Regions from separate parts of the Homo sapiens genome. Here regions 1, 2, 3 and 4 are each linked to region 5. Evidence: promoter capture Hi-C in human tissues and cell types (Jung and others, 2019). All regions are on one chromosome and are shown on one strand. Each heading gives the region's core, a stretch centred on a gene start or on the middle of the fragment in contact. The rest is flanking DNA. Distances are from core to core; before and after follow the strand shown.

What was found. Contacts are between HindIII fragments. The study calls those that stand out against the background at their distance.
Region 1: a contact is called between a fragment that was not itself captured here and the fragment with the promoter of MRPS31 in region 5, in 1 of the 25 tissues and cell types used here (hippocampus).
Region 2: a fragment that was not itself captured here is called in contact with the fragment with the promoter of MRPS31 in region 5 in 1 of the 25 tissues and cell types used here (H1 embryonic stem cells).
Region 3: a contact is called between a fragment that was not itself captured here and the fragment with the promoter of MRPS31 in region 5, in 1 of the 25 tissues and cell types used here (H1 embryonic stem cells).
Region 4: a contact is called between a fragment that was not itself captured here and the fragment with the promoter of MRPS31 in region 5, in 1 of the 25 tissues and cell types used here (spleen).

Annotation. Positions count from the first base shown.
Region 1 is chr13:40,269,374-40,272,701 of GRCh38, forward strand. No RefSeq gene overlaps it. Among named protein-coding and RNA genes, the nearest start is that of LINC00548, 51 kb to the left of the region's middle. The HindIII fragment of the contact is 5,758 bases long and covers 1-3,328 here.
Region 2 is chr13:41,179,027-41,182,112 of GRCh38, forward strand. All of the region lies in intron 3 of KBTBD6-DT (KBTBD6 divergent transcript), which reads left to right. It overlaps LOC124903260 (small nucleolar RNA U13), which reads right to left and starts at 1,061; the gene lies at 955-1,061. The HindIII fragment of the contact is 4,947 bases long and covers 1-3,086 here.
Region 3 is chr13:40,293,609-40,296,593 of GRCh38, forward strand. No RefSeq gene overlaps it. Among named protein-coding and RNA genes, the nearest start is that of LINC00548, 75 kb to the left of the region's middle. The HindIII fragment of the contact is 7,754 bases long and covers 1-2,985 here.
Region 4 is chr13:41,027,353-41,030,425 of GRCh38, forward strand. It overlaps a transcript of ELF1 not described here. Among named protein-coding and RNA genes, the nearest start is that of ELF1, 9.6 kb to the left of the region's middle. The HindIII fragment of the contact is 3,245 bases long and covers 1-3,007 here.
Region 5 is chr13:40,769,366-40,772,703 of GRCh38, forward strand. MRPS31 (mitochondrial ribosomal protein S31) reads right to left here and starts at 1,825. Exons shown (of 7, transcript NM_005830.4): 1 at 1,620-1,825. The coding sequence starts at 1,771. RefSeq lists an enhancer at 1,714-1,883. The HindIII fragment of the contact is 6,562 bases long and covers 1-3,338 here.

The DNA.
Region 1 (3,328 bases), core at 51-2,550, 500 kb before region 5:
GTCATTACCCAAGGCTTCTGTCATCATCGCATTCCCAGATTCTTTGGATTTGGCTGGGCAAACAGACTGGACAAGGCTCGGCTGCTGCTTTTGCTATTCACAGACACCACTTAAACTGAGTGATCCCCTTTCAAAACCTGCTCCCATGATCCAAATTCTTCTGGAAGATGAGATTTCTGGTTAAGCAAAAGTCAGCTGTGCACGGATGGTTTGAAAATTCTTCCCTCCCCTCATCTTCATGTACACCCATCATTGCCACGTCATTGCCCCTCCCAGACCCTTCCTTATAGCAGTCATTATCTATCCCACCAGGCCACCCTCCTGGGCTGGAAGATAGAAGCATGACCCATGACATGACTGAAGGTGCAGGGTCTTCAGTCTGGGCAGTTTAAACCATGATTTAACAGGATGTAGACAAAGAACCCTGCAGCTGGGGACTCAAGTTTCTTGCTCCAACTAAACCCAGAATCTGCCCTTTCCTAGTAAAGTAAACTGTAACCTGAATTTCTCAACTACAAAATTAGGACAATACTAGTCACTCTCTCTGTCCTGCTAACCTCTCATGCATAATGTGAGGATAAAATGAAAGTAGAGATGTGACTATGGTTTAACAAAGCGACTATGGTTTAACAAAGCCAAAAATATAATATACAGTATTATTACCAAGAGCAGATCACGTCCTCTGCACCATGTATCCCACCTAAGCAGGATTAATGTTTTTAACACTCAGTTTTTCCCACTCAAATATCAGATCCTTGGTTCTTATTTATTTATTTTTTTTAGAGATGGGGTCTTTCTCTGTCACCCAGGCTGGAGTGCAGTAACTCACTCATAGCTCACTGCAGTCTCAACTTCCTGGGCTCAAGTGACCCTCCTACCTTAGCCTCTAGAGTAGCTGGAACTACAGGCACGAGGCACCACACCAGGCTAGAACCTTGATTCTAACAGTCAGTAGTATCTGGAGGAAGTCTTTAACTGAACCCCATATGAAATTGACAATAAGACTTTTTGAGAAGACTGGACTGGTATTCTGTAATGAGAATTGTCTATTATTTCACTAGATATTCTAGACAATTGAACCTGGTCCTAAATTTTCTCCCCCTAAGAAACTAGTGATAACCTTCAACCAGTGTAGCTAAGATACAGCTGTTTCTTGGATCAGTTTCTTATTTCTTTACATCCTGAGCAGTCTATGTGCCAGGACATTTTCTTCTATTAATAAAGCCATCTTAGTTTGTGTCTCTGCAATTGCCCAAAGCAAGTCCCCAAGAACCAAATTAATATCCTGTGATAGCAAGCTCCATTTCCCTTGACTGTGCTCGGCACAACATGAGTTGCAGCTTGACGCAGGAATCGACATGGGGCCCTCAGCTCTGTGCTCCTCCATCATCACTTTCTTCACCTCAAAATGAGTCCCCATGATATGCCATACTCTGCATAGGACAAAGTAGTGCACAAAAGCAAATGAGGTTTTTCCCTTAGAGGAGCTTATACTCCACAGCTGAGTTTGCTAAGGAGGCTGGGTTCTCTTTTTGAGAGCTGGTCCATGGGGTTTGTTATAAACACCATCAGCAGAAAGAGCCACTTCCTGTTGGTATCTGGGTCTAACACAGATCCCTAATTGCCCAGAAATTTGGGTGCCATAACAATGGTGACATCTCCCCAGAAGTGGGCACAGGGGAGCAACTTAGGGTATTCCCATTTCATCACTTCCCAGGATTCCACTTCCAGAGATTTCTTAAACCTGACTCCATGGTAAGTCTCTTAATTACATCAATACTCCCTTTGAGCACCTCCTATGTGCCAGGCCATGTGCTAAGAACTTTGCAATTAATCCTCTTAACAACTGTTATATTTTTTTTCAACAAATGAGGGAAAAATGGCTCAGGAATATTAAGTAACAAATCCAAGCTCACTAGAGGCAAGTGCTAGTAGAGTCAAGACTCTAACCTAACCTGACTCCAGAGACTCCCCCCAGATTGAAGAAGGTGAATACAACACAGCCAGGAGGCTCCAACATGTTTACAGCAATGAGATTTTTCCTTTTTGATCCATCTGTGGCTGAGAACAGAATTGACTCCCTTCCAGAAAAATCTAGTCTGGTCTCTGTGACTTGGAAAAATAGTCAAGTGCTAAGTGAGCCATTCAGGACCCAAGAGGGTAAAATTAACAAGCATGACAGCAGCATTCATTTTTCAGTGTCAGCAATGTTCCAGGTGTAAGGAAGGACCCTAATTATTATCAGGCCACACACACGGTTTTCCTTCCTGCCTTGTGGCTCAGAGTGGTCGGCAAGAGCTACAGGCATCTTCCTGCCACATGAGTGGAGCTAGCGGAGGCCAAACGTCACTCAGAGACACCCAGGCCCCACCCCAGAGACTGACAGGAGCAACTACCACACTCAGTCCTCTCTCGGTTCCAGGAGCCACCATGTCCAAGCCAGTCCAAGCCAGAGAAAGGGGCCAGGCATGCCTCACGCCACCTCCCGAGATAGGCTTTGTTATTTGAATTTAAGGCCACCCCGAACTGCATGGCAGTTTTCTTAGTGGCCTTCCACAGAGCCACCTGTCTCAAGGCAGCACTCTCAGGGTTCTTGCTTCCTACAACCGAAGCTGGAAGGAGGAACCTCAGATTCCTTTATGGGTAGGAAAGAGATTGCAGAGAAAAACAGCCTCTTTGTGAAAGGCTGATTTGAAAAGGCATGCACAGATGAGTTAGAATCTGGGACTGTGTCCAGGTGGAAGTCTTGCCTGGAATTCCTAATGCATTCTTTCTGTTATTAAAATAATATAAGCAACCGGGGTGGCTTGTTGCTTCTCTGCATGTAGTCAATTTGGCTCATGCTGTGTGACCATTTAAAATCTGACCTCAAGTGGTGCCAATTTAAAAATCTTTTCATTCTGGGTATGTTTCCATTCCACACAACAAGCCCATGGCTATTCCCTAAACTATTTTCTCCAAGCAAAGAGTAACTCAGTAGAACCAAGCTTCTTGCCAGACGTGATGCAATCAGCCAAGCCACCCAATGTCTTGTGTCCCTGGCTCCACCCCACTTTTCTCCCCACGGCCAGCTGTCTGCTTCCAACAGGTCCACTTTTCTGGTCTGTCCTGTCTTTCCCTAGAGCACAGTCCTCCCTTTATTGTCAGGGAAGGTGTTTTCAGGTGGCTGGGTAGACATGGCATTTTCTCCTTCTCACACAGGGAGAGAAGCTCTGCCCTGCCTCCCCCACCGAGCTGTGAGTCATCAACACACAAGATGACAGAGTCTTTTGCAAAGATAAATGATGGAGGTGGAAGATCAAGATGTACCTAGATTTGCCTTCTAAGA
Region 2 (3,086 bases), core at 186-2,685, 410 kb after region 5:
CAGTGAGCCGAGATTGCGTCACTGCACTCCAGCCTGGGTGACAGAAAAAAAAAAAAGTATTGTTTTATTTCAGCTTTACTCATAATAGCCAAAAACTGGAAACAAGCAAATAAAACCAAATGTCCTTCAGTGGATGAATGATTAAACAAACTGTGTTATATACATACCATGGAATACTCTGGCAATAAAAAGGAAATGAACTTTTTTTTAAGAATAAAAGCTTTATTGAGATATAATTCACATACCATAAAGTTCATCTTTTTAAAGTTTAAAGTTCAGTTGTTTTTAGAACACTGACAATACAAACACTACTTAGATAATTGTGCAAAAATCACCAGTAATTCCAAAACACTGTCATTACTCCCAAAAGAATCTCCATATCTATTAGCATTACCATATCTATTAGCATTACTCCCCATTTCCACCTTATTGTCCATATGTTCACGCCCCAGACCTAAGCAATCCTTAATCTATTCTCTGTCTCTATGGATTTGCTGATTCTGAATCTCTCATATAAATGGAATCACACAATATGTTTCCTTCTGTTTCTGGCTTCTTTAGCTTAATATGCTCAAGAGTCATCTCTGTTATAGCATGCATCAGAACTCTATTTTTTTATGGATAAATAAGATTCCATTGCACTGATATTGACCTTTTGCTCATCTATTTGTCAGTTGATGAGCATTCGGGTTTTTCCTCCTTTTTGTCGGTTATGAATAATGCTGCTATGAACATTAGTGTACCAGTTTTTTCTGTACATATGTTTCCAGTTCTCTTGGTTATGTACCTAGGAGTGGAATTGCTGAGTCATATGGTATCTCTGTTAACTTTCTGAGGAACAGAAAACTGTTTTCCAAAGCCATTGTACCATTTTACACTCCTACCAGCAGGTATGAGGATTTCAGTTTTTCCACATCCTTGCCATCCTTGCTTTTGTCTTTTTTTGAATTTTCATGTCAAAGGGGTAATGTTCCAATGAGGTCATAACAAGGCTTGGGGAAGGCACATTTCACACATGCACGTGAAACCCCAGTCATCACGCTTATAAACTACAAAAGGATCTGCTTTTGCTTTTTATTATAGCCATCCAAGTAGGTGTAAAGTGGTATTTCCTTGTGGTTTCATTTGTATTTCCCTAATGTGTTGAGTATCTTTTCATGTGCTTGTTGGTCATTTGTCTATCTTGTTTGAAGCAATGTCTGTTCAAATCTTTTCTCAATTTTTCAGTTGGGTTATTTGTCTTTTTATTGTTGAATTGTATCAGTTCTTTACATATTCTAGACACATGTCCCTTATCAGATATATGATTTGCAAATATTTTCTCCCGGTGTGTGAGTTGTTTTTTTACTTTTTTTTCACTCACATTATGTATGTTGATGTTATGATTTGAAGCACAAAAGTTTCATTTTGGTTAAGTCTAATTTCTTTTGTTGAACTACTGATTGTTTTTTAAGAAATAAATGCCCTGTACATCAAGCTGTATACAGAGTGTACTCTGAAATAGGTCGAATTAAAAGAAGTCCTGATTATGGAGATTTTCAGTGAGCTGTTAGGTCAACTCGTGGTTAATTCTCTGGGAATGAGCCTTTTTGGGCTTCAAATCTGTTCTTTTCTCTCCAGTGGCTGCTAAGCTCTACTTTCCACAACTACTATAAATGTGAAGCTATTGAGTTTCAAGGCTTCCATGGAACTGGGGAGAGGTGTATAGGATTAGAGCAAGTTAAAACACTATAGGCTTTCCGTTCTTACTGAGATTCAGCTGTTTTTCTTAGGTAAACATTCCTTGGAATGTGGCAAGCTTTTGTTAATTTCCACAATTCTAATAAGTTTATGTCAACAGCTTTTGCTAATGTCCTCATTGCTTTTATGGAGGAGCAGATTCTCGGTGTGACATTACTGTACCATTTGGAATGTCTACTGATATACACGATAACTTGGATAAATCTCAAGAGAATTATGCTGAGTGAAAACATGATCTCAAAAGATTAAATACAGTATGATTCCATTTATATAACTTTTTTTTCTTTGAGATAGGGTCTTGCTCTGTCGCCCAGGCTGCAGTGCAGCAGCACAGTCATAGCTCACTGTAACCTCAAACTCCTGGGCTCAAGTGATCCTTCTGTCTCGACCTCCCGAGTAGCTAGAATTACAGCCACCACACCTGGCTAATTAAAAAATTTTTTTGTAGAGATGTGGTCTTGCTATGTTGCCCAGGCTGGTTTGAAACTCCTGACCACACATGATCCTGCTGCCTCAACCTTCCAAAGCACTGGGATTACAGGCATAAGTCACCATGCCCACCCTATATAACAAATTTAAAATGACAAAATTACAGAGATGAATTACAGATTAGGGGTTGACTAGGGAGATGAGGAGGGAAAAGCCTGTGGCTATAAAAGCAAGGCACTGGCTGGGCACAGTGGCTCACGCCTATAATCCCAGCACTTTGGGAGGCCAAGGTGGGCGGATCACCTGAGGTCGGAAGTTCGAGACCAGCCTGACCAACACGGAGAAACTCTGTCTCTACTGAAAATACAAAATTAGCTGGGCGTGGTGGAGCATGCCTGTGATCCCAGCTACTTGGGAGGCTGAGGCAAGGAGAATCACTTGAACCTGGGAGGTGGAGGTTGTGGTGAGCCGAGATCGCCCCATTGCACTCCAGCCTGGGCAACAAGAGCAAAACTCTGTCTTAAAAAAAAAAAAAAAAAAAAAAAAAAAAGCATGGCACAAAGGATATTTGTAATAGAACTATTTTATATCTTGACTGTGTTGATGTTCTCATGAATCTACATGTTAATAAACTTCATAGATTTAAATATACACACACCAAACGCATGCATGTAAAAGTGGTAAAATGTGAATTTTAATGATTTGTATCAATGTCATTTTCTTGGTTGTGATATTTTACTATAGTTGTGCAAAGTGTTACCATTGGGAAAAACAAGTGAAGGATATACAGGATCTCTCTGTATTATTTCTCACAACTGCATGTGAATTTACAATAATCTCAAATTTTTGTTTGTAAAACAAAAAGGAGTATCATAGCTCATAATAGAAATTATATAAGGAAAATTATATTACATAAT
Region 3 (2,985 bases), core at 473-2,972, 480 kb before region 5:
TGTAAAGGCAAGGACACAAGTCTTTCTACCTGATGCCATGAATATGCCTGGATATATTGACATATGACATGGATATATGTCCACAAAGATGGATACATGTGATATATACATGATCATTTAAAAAGTCGTAAAGAAAAATACACGCGACCAACAAGTTTGTCGTCATGGGTATGTTGGGATGAGGTGGAAGGATGGAACATTCAATAGGACAGGAAGGTGAGGAGGAAGGGAGCCAAAAGACAAAGGGAAAAATAATGATAGAGACAGCACTAAAAAGAGAGAAGCAAATTGATTATAAGATGGCTTTACACATATAGGTAAAACTAGGTATGTGTGCATGCATGAAGTAGAGACACATGCAGAATGGATCAAGTGTTAGTCTGGGAGTTGATCTCCCAATGCTCTGTGAGAATATCTTGTTCACTCCAGCCTCACCGAGTACTTAGGATAGTGCCCACGCACAGATATTTCTGGAAGGAAATAAGAATGCAAGCTAGCAAATCAACTTGATTTCTATCCCTAAAGACACTACTCCTTAGGTGTGCAGCTCTGGGCAATACTTCCTTGGCCCAGAGGTAGCTGAGAGAATGAAAGACTGTTTTCAACAAGGGCAGGGCTGAGCAAAAAATTCAGGCAGACAAATTCTCCTAGACACCCCCAGACATTGCGGCCACTAGTTTTGCTGCAGTGGCAGCCTGCTTTGAAGCTGCGTGTTTGGTCTGTTAAGCTTTCTTAATTCATGTGCACATACTCACGTGCACGCACACACACAGAAAGGCAATAAAGAAAAATTACCTACAGTTTTCTTTTCAATGTGTATAAATGTGTGTTTTCAAATTTATACTTTTAAATATGTAAATGCCATCCCTCACACTTTTTAATTGTACGTATAAACAAACTCTTTTTTAACAAAATGAGGTCATTTATATTTTCCTACTAAAGGAGAATTTTATATTATTCTGCTTTATAAACTTTTATTCTCACTTAATATATTACAGATGTCTTCCAGGATTGTTCATAGAAGACCACTGTAGTCAGCTAATTGTCACAGTAATGATGCATAACAAATCACCAATGACTCCCAACAACTATCTTTTTCTTCACTCACACTGAGGGTCTCGTCTTGACTCTGAGCTTCAGGTTGGGTCCAGTCTGCTTCCCATGTCTGTTCTAGAGAGTGTCATTCTTCTTATGGTGATGGCAGAAGCTCAAGAGGAGTGAATGGAAACACATAGTGCCCCTCAAGTTGCCTCTGTCTACTTCTCATGGCCCAAAGCAAGTCATATGGTCAAGTCCAATATTTGTGGGATGGGGAAATACACTCCTGGGATCAACAGCAGAGTCATTGACACAGGGTGTGGTTGGGGAGAGGAGGGTGAGGCAAGAAGGAAGATGTAATATGCCATGGTAGAAATGTATCAGACTTTATTTATCCAGGCCCCTACAGATTAAAAATTAGATTGATTCCAATAAACAGTCATGCAAAATGCACTCTACCAAGCCCCTCATTTAATTCTCACAGCAACCCTGAAGAGCAGTTACTATTAACCGCACTGAAGAATGGGGAGGAAACTGGATCATGCTATAGATGATTAATAATTTGCTCTCAGTCATTGTTTTAGTGGGAAATGCAGGTGTCCCTCAAACCCAGATTTTCCCAGTGCAGCCCCATAAAAATCCTTCTGAGATTTGGTGCATGGTCAGATTTGTCTTTTCCAGGGAGCTGTGAATAAAGATACAGTTCATCCTATTTCTCTTTTGTCTAGGCTTCCATGAAGCTCAAAGCCAAGTTCAAGTCTCAAACAAGGCAAATTACTTACAATTAGTATATTCATAGACTCATTTCTTTGGTTCTAATGTTCCATTTCTATTTCACTCAACTTATTTATAGAGTACTCTTTTGCAAGTTTCCTTCATTTTAAAAATAAAGAATCAAGATGTAATTAATTTGAATTTGAAGGATGTCAGAATTTCTTGACTGAGCATTCAAGGAGCTCAAGAGTGCTGGGTTCTGATTGTGGATGGTCAGTGCCCCAGACTCTGCCTCCTACACAGTGCAACTTTCTGAAGCCTGGGCTGTAGGTGGTCACCAGTCACACTCACTGCAGCCAGAAGACAAAGAAGGGAAAAAGAATGACACTCAAATGAATCGATTGTATTGATTAGCAGGAACTCCAGTAGCAATTCAAGAGCATTGGAAAATTAATAAATTATGGTGTTCCTCCCTGCTTACCAATACCAGAGATAATCTAGGGTTAATTTTAGTGCCCTACACTGCATCTGGCCCCTGTCAGGTACTTGATAAATGCATAATGATGCACAGCTATACATTTATCAAAAAGAAATAAATATAATCAACACCCAAAAGGCAAATGTCTTTTAAAATTTTCATTCTTACGTTTTAGACTATTAATGTATCAATTTAAAGACAAACTCCTGTAATCACCCAGTGGAGTCTTCTTGCCCACTGCACTAACAAAACCAATTCACTGAAACAATGGCATTGCAGTAAAGAAAGAGTTTAATTGACATGAGGCCAGCCACACCATGCAGAAGATGAAGTTATTACTCAAATTGGTCTCCCTGAACCCTTGGAGGTTAGGGTTTTTCAAGGATAGTTTGGTGGGCAGGGGACTAGGGAATGGGTGCTGCTGATTGGTTGGGGATGCCATCATGGGGGAAATGTGGAAGATGTGGAAAATGGTTATTGCGTGCTTAGTCCACCTCTGGGTGGGGGCCGCAGGACCAGCTGAGTCATGAGTCACAGGTCTGGGTGGAGTCAGCCAAGTAATCAGAAATGCAAAGTCTGAAAAGACATTGCAAAAGTCCAATCTTAGTTTCTACAATAGTAATGTTACTTACAAGAATAACTGGGGAAGTTACAAATCCTGTGATCTCCGGAACTATGGCTGATTATCATTTAACTATGCCTACATCTTAGCAGAATTCAGACCCTTATAATCCTAACCTTGTGGGCTTTCATTA
Region 4 (3,073 bases), core at 135-2,634, 260 kb after region 5:
GATACCAGTCAGCCATTTTCCCCAGCCACCTGTCATTGCCCAGGGGGCTCATCCTGGACATGGTGGCAGGGATGGAGGTTATTCACGGGCTTAGCAACATGGATTTCCACTCACTACAGCTCACCTGGGTATGGCCACTGCTGAGTGCCCAATCTGCTAGCAGCAGAGACCAGCAATGAGCCCCCAGTATGGCACCATTCCCTGGGGTGATCCGCCAGCTACCTGGTGGCTGCTTCCATCACAGAAGGGGCAGCAGTTTGTTCTTACTGCAATAGACACTCTAGATACAAATTTGCCTTTCCTGCACACAATGCTTCTCCCAAAACTACCATCCATGAACTCACAGAATGCCTTATCTACCATCATGGCATTCTACACAGCATTGCTTCTGACCATGGAACTTATCTCAGTCACAAAAGTGGGGTAATGGGCTCAAGCTCATGGAATTCATTGGTCTTACCATGTTCCCTGCCATCCTGAAGCAGCTAGCTTGACAGGATGGTGAAATGGCCCTTAGAAGATTCAGTTACAGTGCCAGCTAGGTGATAATACCTTGCAGGTCTAGCACTAGGTTCTCCAGAAGGCTGTACACATTCTGAGTTAGCATCCACTACATGGTACTGTTTTTCCCACAGCCAGGAGTCAATATTCCTTGTTTCCTGAACTAAGGAATACAAATAGGAATGGCACTACTCACCATTACCCACAAGCAAAATTTTTACTTCCTGTTCCCGTAACTTTATGCTCTTTTGGCCTAGAAGTCTTAGTTCCAGAGAGAGAGGAATACTTCCACCAGGAAACACAATAATGATTCCATGGAACTGGAGTCAAAACTACCATCCAGCCACTTTGGGCTCCTCATGCCTCTGAGTCAACATAGCTGGGGGTGATTAATCTAAACTAGGAATGGGAAGCTGGACTACTAACTCACAGTGCAGATAAAGAAGAGTATGTCTGGAATACAGGAGATCCCTTGGGGCATCTCTTTGTATTATCATGCCCTTTAAATAAGTCAACGGGAAACTACAACAACCCAATCCAGGAAGGTCTACTAATAGCCCAGACCCTTTAAGAATGAAGCTTTGGGTCACCCCACCAAATAAAGAACCACGACCAGCTAAGGCGTTTGCTGAAGGCAAACAGAATACAGAATATGTAGTACAAGAAGGCAGTAATCAATGCCAGCTATAACCACCTGACCAGTTAGGGAAATGAGGATTTTAACTGTCATGACTATATTCTCCCTATTTTGTTCAGAATACATTTGTGTGTATATATACATAGATATAACAAAGCAAATATCTTTGTGTTCTTTCCTCTTATTCCTTTACTATGTAATATAAGATGTATTTACTTTATATCAGTATTTAAGTATTGCTAATTTATTTTTTATCTTTTTGAGACAGAGTCTCACTCTGTTGCCCAGGCTGGAGTGAAGTGGCGCAATCTTGGTTCACTGCAACCTCTGCCTCCCAGGTTCAAGCGATTCTTAAGCCTCAGCCTCCCGAGTAGCTGGGACTACAAGTGCACACCACCATGCCCGGCTAATTTTTCCATTTTTATTATTGTATTTTTAGAGACGGGGTTTCACCATATTGGCCAGGCTGGTCTCAAACTCCTGACCTCGTAATCTGCCTGCCTCGGCCTCCCAAAGTGCTGGGATTACAGGTGTGAGCCACCATGCCCGGCCAAGTATTGTTAATTTTACATCATATAATTAAATTGTGGGACATAAGAGAACAACATTCAAGAGCTTTACCTCCTCTTCTGAGGATAAATCAGTGCATTTTCAATTGTATGCAGGGTAGTTGTATCATTTTAGGCAGAGCTACAATTTCGTAATTGTCTCTATTCGGAGATTAAATATGGTTTAAGTAGGTGCACATGGGTGCCACATGGGTGCCAAGTTGACAAGGGGTGGAACTGTGATGGTTAATTTCAGGTGTCAACTTAACTGAATTAAGAGGTACCCAGATAACTGGTATAGTATTATTTTTGGGTATGTCTGTGAGGATGAGGGTGTTTCCAGAGAGACTGGCATTTCTTTTTTATTTTTTTTGAAACAGTCCTGATCTCTTGCCCAGGCCTGACTGCAGTGGCCTGATCACAGCCTCAACCTCCCAGGCTCAGGTGATCCTCTCACCTCAGCCTCCCGAGTAGCTGGGACTACAGGCATGCACCACCATGCCTGGCTAATTTTTATGTTTTCTGGAGAGACGAGGTTTTGCCATGTTGCCCAGGCTGGTCCTGAACTCCTGGGCTCAAGTGATCCACCCGCCTCAGCCTCCCAAAGTGCAAGGATTACAGGCGTGAGCCAAAGTGCCCAGGGAGATAAGCATTTCAATCAGTGGACTCCATAAGGAAGATCTGCCCTCATCCAATGTGGGTGGGCACCATCAATTGGCTAAGGACCTGGATAGAAAGGTGAATTCTCTCTTTCTTGGAGCTGGGGCGCCCTCCTTCTCCAGCAACTGGAAAGACTGCAGTTACCAAAACTGAGACAGGAAAGATGACAAATGGCAATGGTTTGAGGTAGAGGAATATCAGAGTTCAGTTCTGAACACATTAAGCTTCAGATGCTCATTAGTTATCAGACTAGAGACACCAAATTAGATATGCAGTCCTGGAGTTGAATATACAGTCCTAAAGCCCAGGTTAAAGGTATGGGCTAGAGATCATAAACTTGGGAATAATTACCATATATATATATTTATATTTATATTACATTAACATGTATATAATATTAAAGCTATAGGTTAGAAAAGCAACAATGACAGACTCTTGGGACACTCCATCATTTAGAAGTAGAAAAGATGAGGCATAACAACAAAGAAGGCTAAAAGGAATACTCAGAAATGTAGGAAGAAAAAAAGGCATGTGTGTTTCCAAGAATAAGGAATGAGCAACTGTGCCAAATGCTGATGGCAGATCAAGTTAGATAAGGTCTGAGAAAAAAATGACAGTTGAATTTGGCAACATGGAGGTCACTGTTGGTTTTGAAAGGAAAGTTTTCATGGTACAGCAAAGGTAAAAACAAACAAAAAACCCTGATTAGGTAAAGTTTAAGAGAGAA
Region 5 (3,338 bases), core at 575-3,074:
CTCTGTCCATATATATATATATATATATATATATATATATATATATATATATATATTATCAAGTTCTCAAAGCCAGAAAATGGCAGCCGCAGGTTAAGGATACTTACATGAAAGAGAAAATGGCAATTTCAAAAAATGCTGAAACTATTTGATCTGCTTATGAAAACGTCAGAGGCTATCAAATCAGGCACTTAAAAATTAGAATAAAAAACCAACTGCATAACTAGTATCCTCATAATCAGTACACAGGACTCTCATTATAATATTCAATATATGGTACAATCTATTTAAGAAAATGGTCATTATTTTACATTTAAAGTTACTATTCAAGGTATTTTAATAGAAAAGTGGTAATCAGGGGAATGAATCTCACATGTAATCTTTACTACAATGTTTTCTTTCAAGACTGCTATCATACCACAGAAAACAATCTACATTATAGGAAAATCACGTCTAAGTAACTCCCTAGCACTAAAAATAATAAACCTCTCGACCTAACCTCCCACCTGAGTTTGTTTCCACTGACAGCAGCTCATCAGTACTTCAAATGCAACACCTTCAACACCACATTCAAGACTCCTCTTTCAGACTGACTTTCCATTTTTCACACTTTCTATATTAAAAGGCCCCCTAACATAAACAGGTATTTGTTGTTTTCTAAAAATTATAATATATGGAAAAATCTTTCTCAAGCCTGGCTCCGCATTCTTCTGTTAACATTAAGGATACCCTAATACTCCAACGCAGCCAGTTGAAATTTTTGCTATCTCTGACTACCCTACCATTATCCCATGACGTCACATCCCTTTAATTCTACCTGTGCAATTTTTCTCCTCCATTCAGCTGGTCCTTCCCATCTTCACTGCTACTAACCTGCTTCAGCACTGTACTTAACCAAACTGCCTTCTGAGTGTTACGCATGGAATTTATGCAGCGGAATTAGGTTTTCATAATAAAGTTCTCGGAGGATAAATACCAAAACCAAGTATGCCACAATTCCCTTTTTTCCTGGCTAACTTCAACCAGTGGTCCTCCTTCAGATTTCGTCAGACTTTTCCAGAAACGATATCCTGAGTCTCCCCTATAATGGTTAGGTGTCCCTATTTGCTATCCCAGCAAGTACTCATTCATGTTGGCTGAATAGTGTACTCTGTTTACCTACACTATCTCAGCTATTACTTCACTACATAGCACTTGAATTGTCTACTTTCTGGAACTACACGCTCCGTGATGGCAGGACTGTCTCACTTGGGGTTTACAACCAGTACTGGCACGCTGTTTTTCGAGTTTTTCAGTAATGAACTAAAGAATAAATGAAGGAAAACAAATGAGACTATCAAATAAATCTTGGGAGGCAAAAGATAAAAACCTGGGTAAACTGACAGGAGATGATGACAAGAGGAATGAGGCGCGGCGTGTAGTAGAGCACAGCGACCAGGTTTGTAATCGTAGCTCTGTTTTCACGCACACTATGACCTTGGGCAAGTCATCTTTTCTTTCTGGGATTTCTCTTTCCTCAGATTTAAAGCAATAGCTTCTAAGACCCAGCAGGTGGTAACATCGACCCCAGGAAGTCGGAGGATGTACAGGACGGGGCACGGGGTTGCCTGAGGACCTACCGGGCCAACAGCGCTGAACTGCGGTACCTGACTGTTCCGTGCCGAACAGTGAGTAGCATAATCGCAGCCGCTGATGTCTCCGGGCTTCCAGAGGACAAAGGGTGGCGGGAAAGGGGGCGAAGAGGTAGGAACGTCGAGACTCTAGGAAACATCGCCGAGACACGAAATGAACCAAGAACACAACTGAAATGGTGCGTCCCGCTGCCAAACACGTCCCCGCCCTCTCTTCCGCTTCCGGCCTGGCGCCTTCCTCCCCCTTTGCGCTCCGGTGGGCTACAGGGGCGGGTAACTGTGTTCCGGACTCGCCCGCGGCCGGGCGGAGCCAGTTGCCTCCAAGCGACCCGACCCACCCCGCGATTGTAGTCCTAGAGGCGGAGTCCTCGCCAGAGTTCAGCAAAGGTTCGCTGGCCGAGGCGGGTCCCAGACCGGCGAACCCGACAGTGGAGGGCGTGACCAGTTGTGCAAAAACTACAGATGGTGCCAGTGAGATCAGTCTCTTCTTTAACAGACAATATTTTGCGATGTTTGGAGGGGAAGGGTCTACAGCGTTCACCACGTTCTCAAAATGCGCCATGGCCACCAAAGAGGTTTAAAAAAAATTACTAAAAGACCTGCTGCCCTATGAATTAGCGTTTCCTTTCAGTCTTTATTTTTGATGTAGAGTCAAAATGAGACATAGGTTTCATTTTTCAAAAATAGCTTTATGGCCGGGCACGGTGGCTCACGCCTGTAATCCCAGCACTTTGGGAGGCCGAGGCGGGTGGGTCACTTGAGGTCACGGGTGCGAGACCAGCCTGGCCAACATGGTGAAACCCCATCTCTACTAAAAAAAAAAAAAAAAAAAAAAAATACAAACACACACACACACACACACACACAATTAGCCGGCCGTGGTGGCGGGCGCCTGTAATCCCAGCTACTGGGGAGGCTGAGGCAGGAGAAGCGCTTGAACTCGGGAGGTGGGGGCTGCAGTGAGCCGAGATCGCGCCATTGCACTCCAGCTTGGGCTACAGGGCGAGATTCTTTGTCTCAAAAAAACAAAAAAGAAAAGAAAAAAAGATTTACGCCGGGGGCACAGTGGCTCATACCTGTAATCCCAGTACTTACGGAAGCCGAGGCGGGCAGATCACTTGAGGCCAGGGGTGAAGACCAGCCTGGTCAACATAGTGAAACCCTGACTCTACTAAAAATGCAAAAATTAACCTGGCGTGGTGGCGAGTGCCTATAATCCCAGCTACTCGGGAGGCTGAGGCAGGAGAATAGCTTGAACCCGGGAGGCGGAAGCTGCAGTGAGCCAAGATTGTGCCACTGCACTCCAGCCTGGGCAACAGAGTGAGACCCCGTCTCAAAAAAAAAAAAGGATGAAAAGATGCAAGAGAGAGACTTGGCTTTTACCTGTCCCTCATGAAACAGGGAACTGTGACCCCAGAAGAGATGTGGGGTTCCCAAACTTGGAAGGGGATGAGAATAAATCTGGTGGGAAATGTTGGCTAATAGGACACATGGGAACCACTAGCCTAAAATTCCATAAAGGCATTCCAAAGTTTACATCAACATTTTCCCTGTCCTCTCAAAAAATAATCAAGGTGGGGAGGTGAGTTTTTGTGATACTAAAACACAGCTTACATTGAGCAGATCTTCCTGAGATCCACTAACACTAACAGAACCTTTGTGACTGAATGCTCTACACAGTACACTTGGGGATGCTTACTTTGTCTG